Regions from separate parts of the Homo sapiens genome. Here region 2 is linked to region 1. The links are contacts of gene promoters, found by promoter capture Hi-C in blood cells and fetal thymus (Javierre and others, 2016). All regions are on one chromosome and are shown on one strand. The core of a region is centred on a gene start or on the middle of the fragment in contact, and the rest is flanking DNA. Distances in the headings are between cores, read along the strand shown.

What was found. The method cuts DNA at HindIII sites, captures the fragments that hold promoters and counts their contacts. A CHiCAGO score of 5 or more calls a contact.
Region 2: a contact is called between a fragment that was not itself captured here and the fragment with the promoter of RAB6B in region 1, in 4 of 17 cell types (naive B cells, M0 macrophages, non-activated CD4 T cells and 1 more). The highest score is 11.3, in naive B cells.

The regions. Positions count from the first base shown.
Region 1 is chr3:133,894,632-133,897,483 of GRCh38, forward strand. RAB6B (RAB6B, member RAS oncogene family) reads right to left here and starts at 1,251. Exons shown (of 8, transcript NM_016577.4): 1 at 766-1,251. The coding sequence starts at 835. RefSeq lists a silencer at 1,221-1,270. The HindIII fragment of the contact is 7,968 bases long and covers 1-2,852 here.
Region 2 is chr3:132,731,879-132,734,730 of GRCh38, forward strand. NPHP3-AS1 (NPHP3 antisense RNA 1) reads left to right here. Exons shown (of 11, transcript NR_002811.2): 3 at 1,446-1,566. Among named protein-coding and RNA genes, the nearest start is that of NPHP3-ACAD11, 11 kb to the left of the region's middle. The HindIII fragment of the contact is 929 bases long and covers 895-1,823 here.

The DNA.
Region 1 (2,852 bases), core at 1-2,500:
GGTGCCCCTGTATCATTCCCCAAATCGCCTCGAGTTGGGGTAGCCCTCACTGCAATTGCCCAGATCCCTGGGCAGCAAGGAGACTAACAAGCGCCGGCGAAGGGCAGCGGGTCTAGAACCTTCTGTGCCCAGTCGGACGTGAGCCAGGGGAGGTAGGCTCCCCGTTCCCCCATGGCCTGCACTCGCTCTTTCGAGCAGAGACAGGTGTCGCTCTTTTCTCCCCGGTGGCTGTTTGTCCCACGCCCTGGACGTGCCCTTTCGCATGGTTCCCAGCAGGGTCCGCAGGGAACACCCCTCCAGTGCAGCGGAGTGAGGCCCGGCCAGACCCCAGCTTCGCTTCGTTCTCCAAGGGGGGCGCCCGTCGCTCTCCCCACCCCCGCCAGCACCCAGCCACCTGCGCGGTCGCCCGCAGCCGGTGCCGCAGTGTGAGCTAGCCAGCGAGCCCGGTTCCTTCACGCCCTGGCCAGCGCCGCGGAGCCAGCCGCCGCCCTCCGGGCCCCCTGCAGCGCCGCACCTGCACCCACACCCCGGGCCCCCCACCCAGAGCCCACCCTCACCTCCACCCCAGGCTCCAGCGCCTCCTCCGTCCTCACCCTTGGCCCCTCCCCAGCCCGACCCCGCCCCGACCTCCCCATCCCTGTCCCTCTCCTCTACCCTGGCAAGGAGGGGCCTTTCCGAGCCTGGGCCGGGGGTCCCAATGGGGTGGGCGATTGGGCGGCGGGGGTCGACTCGGCGACAAGCCAAGAGATTAAGCCGGGTACTTACCGCTCTGCTCCCCCAAGAACACCAACTTGAATTTTCTCAGTGGATTCCCAAAATCTCCCCCTGCGGACATGGTGCTGGCAGCCGGGGCCGGGAGAGGAGGAGGAGGAAAAAGCGAAGGAGCAGGGAGGGGAGAGTAGGAGGGCGAGGGGAGGCGGCCGGCGGTGCGGGAGCCGGAGGGGGAAGGGCTGGCTGCGCGCGTCCCTGACTCCCCAGCTGCGTCCCGGTCCCGGCCTGCGGCTGCGTGTCCGGCGGCGGAGGAGGAGGAGGAGAGAGAGGCGGAGGCGGAGGAAGGCTGGGGCTGGGCTGCTGCGGTCGGCACTGGCTGCGGTGCGAGGGGCGCGCTCTTTACGCCCGAGGCGCGGCGCTGGGAGAGAGGCGCGGGCGGAGCGGGGCGCAGGGACGGCGCGCGGGGCGGAGGAGCGCTCTCCAGAGCCGCGCCAGTCGGCCCCCTCCCGCCTGCCTCCTCCGCCGGCGCCTGCGCTCTGTGCGCTCCCCAGCCTCTGATGTCATGCGGGGCCCGCGGGGCTGCGGGGCTGGGGGGCGTGCGCCCGCCCACCCGAGCCCGCACCCGGGCAGGAGAGAACCTCCTCGCCGTACCCCTGAGAGCCCCCCGGGGGGGACCGTGTCTCGCTGCCCCGCTGCGTCTGTCTTCCCCACTCTACCCCTCTTTTGAATCCAGAAAATGACAGAAATTGTCAGGGGACATTTGTTTCTGGTCTTTTAAACCTAGATGCCAGTCCCTTCCTCCACCTCGCGAGACACCGATGCACAGCGCAGTCGTCCGACCGACAGGGCGGAAAGGAACGAAGGTGGGGGAGAGCCAGGGTGTGGCGAGGCCCGTCAGGGCGGTCAGACCTAGGGAAACCTGGCGTACTTGGCGCAGATGGGGCTCGACTCTTGCCCCCCGTGGCTTCTAGCCCGCCCTTCCCTCTCGAGGCCTAGACCCTTTATTTGGGCGGCCTCTTGTGGAGTCTGTGGGTGCCCCCGCAGACCTGGCCAGCGAGAGAGGAGCTGCCAATATCAGGCGCGCCTACCTCAAACCAGCTGCTCATTTGGATCATTTTATGCCAAATCCTAACCTGCCCCATGGGAGAGAAGGAACGGTGACGCTCTGAATGCCAGTGCCACTATCTCCAGGACAGTGCCCTGCGTTTCTTGATCCCGGGGTCGCCAGGCTGACAATGCCACTCCCCACCCTGGCAATTAGGTGTATCTGGACAATGAGCTATCTGAGGACATGTGGGCGACCTCTCCTTGGCCTCTACTTGCCTGGTCCATCGAGGCACACAGACCAAGTTGTGAGTGAGTGAGAGCAAAGAGCAGACGCCAAGTGCTAGAAACACTCCCAAGACAGCCCGAGCCTAAGGCATGCTGGTTAATTGAGGTTTTACAAAGCTGTCCCTTACTGTTCTGCCACAGCGTGGTCTTGTTCATTTATGGCTGTTCAGTGAGCATTTATTTGAGATAATAATCTGCATGTCGGTGAACACGATGGTGTGTGCACGCATGTGTTATAGAAAGAGAAAGAGGAGTGAGACACAACCTTCACCTCCAGATTTCTCGTGGACACTTGTTACCCCCTTTTTGACTTATGGGGCTTGCTTGGGCAAGCCTATCTGTCTCCCTGGTGTGCTCACCTCGAATCTCTTTCCTATTTCTTGTTAGAAACCTGACCACAAGTTCCATAAAAGCAGTAGTTGAAGCTCCACCACTGCATCCCAAGGACATAGCTCAGAGTTTAAGAAATAGTTGTTGAATGTTTGAATGAACATCTAGAACTCAAATCAAAATAACTGTCCTATTCTCATAATTACCTTTAGTTTGGAACCCCAGGGATTGTAAGTCATCACCTAGAATATCTGCCCCGTTGTGGCTGGCACCAGGCTCAGGGTAACCCTCCAGACACCCACCCACTTCTCTGGGGCTCCTGCTCTCTTAGGAGACCATATCCAGCTTGGGGTTGAAGAAAGCTCTGAAAGGAGAGGAGACTCCCAAGTCACAGCCCTTCCCGTCTCTATAAGTGATCCCTCCAAAGAAGGGCCAGTGAGCTACTGGCCAAGGTACCCAGCCATGCAACACTCCTCCAA
Region 2 (2,852 bases), core at 109-2,608, 1.2 Mb before region 1:
TCCCTTTCTTCCCCATGGCTCCTCCTTGTCTACCCCTGTTCTTTCATCTTCTCTCTTATATGAACTCATTCCCTTCTGCTTGTTCCTTGGGCTCCCATACATCTCTTAGGCAGAGATTTTTGGAATTTCACAATGGACTCATTTACTTCTTTCAAGGGAGTTAAAATGTATTTAAATTTAAAACAGAAGGAGCAAATGGAACAACTGCAGAATGAGAATGAAACTACTGAGATTCTAAAAATACAGATCCAACAAGTTTTTTCTAAAGTGGTACTAATGATCAACACATTTTATGGTTTATTGCTAGCTTTGCCAAACCATTTGTGGTCTTCCATATACATTAGTAAAATACATACAGCCACCTCCATTAAAGTGGAAGTAAACCTGATTAAACCTTTTACCAAATATCAGATAATACTCTTTAAATGTGCTGCTAGACCTCACAGTCCCTTGCAGATATAAAACTTCACTGGCCTTTTAGAAAACTTAAATTATGTCTCTGTGCCTTGAGATGTAAATTTACTGTACTCGGTAAGATCTTCAGCCATGGAAGACAGATTAACTTGTTGTATTTACAGAGGCACAATTTAATTCAACTGTTCTTTTAAGCTGGTGAGTTTTACCTGACTCATGAATAAAATTTTAAAAGCAAAGCTATAAAATCTTTATTTGCATCTGTTTGTATTTTTATATGTACATGTACACATGTCTGTATTTGTATATTGTTTACATGGTACCAAATTGGTTTATAAATAAATAAGCACTCATCAATTAGTAAGCCAAAATACTTTGTAAATTCATATCACTTGAATAGATCTTTTAGCATGTAAGACTAGTTTAATAAGAACAACCATCTTCTGAGTTTTTGGCAAAATATCCATAAATTTAACTTTAAGCTTCTTACTTAAGTGAATATCTGATATTCACAGACTATAAACGTGGTTAGCAGTAAAATAACTTGAAATGTTGACTAGCTTTGTCTAATATTTCAGTTTTCATAAATATTCTAGGTAAGCTGTTAAAAATAAATAAATTAGATAACTGTCAATGAGATACACCTCTAGAGGAACTTTTCATGTAATTTGAAATCTTAAAGCTATGTTAAATTAAATAATAGATACTATTAAATGTCTGGGTCATTTCCAATTAAGGTAAACATATTATAAGAAAACATGTTTCTAAAGATTATAAAATGGTTTTCATTTATAAGACACTGATATGTGACAAGCAAAGATTCTTGTTGTCGAGGTTGTCACTAAAATGTAAGGTTACTGAGAGTTAAAAGTTCTAATTAATATTTATATATAATTTTATATATAGAATGTGCCAAAAATAAGATGTGTTTTTGATAAGAAAAAATTATAAGAAGTGTTCTTTATTATAAAAATTATTATAAAAATGTGTTCTTTATTGAGAAAGAAAAAATAATTTTGTCTAATTTGTAGGTTACTTAAAGGTTGTTTCAAAATATGGACTTAGGAAGGAGAAAGAAACAAGATTAAAAAGGAACAAGTAACTAGGAGAGAAAAATATGAAGAAGGTTATGGATATGAAGATGCATTTTTGGTAAGGAAGGTTAAAAAGAAAAGAGAATAATTTTGTATGAGAAAGAATCTCATATGATAAAGTTTTGTCCTAATGTAAAATGACTGGTTATTTAAGAAAGAGGAAATACAGGACAAAGCAGAAAGTCCAAGCGTGTTTTCAATGGTCTGCCTATGTCATGATAAGGTTCGTGAAAAGAGAATTTATGAAAACAATTTTGTGTGTGATTAAGTTGGCTATAATTCTAAAGAAATTATTTCTAAGTTTTCTAAAGATTAAGCTTTGACATTGAAAATATGCTAGAACAAAACTAAAAAAATGTGGTCCCCTGTATTATAACAAGGTTTTTGTAAAGTATTCATTTTCTTTTAATAAAATTGCAAAAGATTTTTATTTTAAAATTCTAAAATCCATTTCTTTTTGAAACTTCCTTTTATCAAGATAATTTCTGTGTTGTCCTTACTTGGTTTTGGTTTCTTTAAAAGGATTAAGGGTTTTACATCCATGTAACTTTCTTTATTGCTTTTGAAGTCTTTTGATTACCACTCTGGTTAAATGAATAAGTATTAATTAACAGTGACTGGCGATTCTGTTTTCATCAAATGCTTGGAACTTTTGACATCTTTGACAAACTTCCCCCAAATCAACTCCTAAAGTAGGCTGTTTCCCCTAAAATTAACTTTAGGGTTTTCTAGTTAGACCTCTGGAGAACCTCAAAGAATATGTCTTGTAGAGATATTAAATTATTAGGCTTATTTGGTAAATTGTATGAGAAACATTGTCAAATGATAAATGGTACTAGATCTTCTTTCAGTTATATTTATGGGCATGTTATTGATATAAATATCCCCAGAATTATATAAATTTATAAAAATCTAATGTTATGAGTCATAATTTTGACTATATTAAATCTTTTCCAAAGTTATATTTGTATGGATGTATTATTAATAGGAATATTGTAGAGATTACATGAAATTTATAAAAGTCTGGAAATCATGATGTGATGCTGTCAGTCATGATTCTGTTTTTTGTTTTAAAATGCCACATATAATAGAAACAACTAAATTTCTTTGTCTTCCACTAGATTTTAAACATGACTATTTTAAGTTTTTGTTATCCACAGTTATTATTTTGAATTCTTTACTAAAAGCATTTACAATGAGCTATAGTCCAAAATTGCTTTTCATGGAAAAGACTCTAACAACTACTCTTGAACACAGATTTCTGATAATGTTAAGATCAATGTATTAGGTAAAAACTTCCATAACTCTACTAATAAACTGATGGATTCATGAAGACAGCAAACC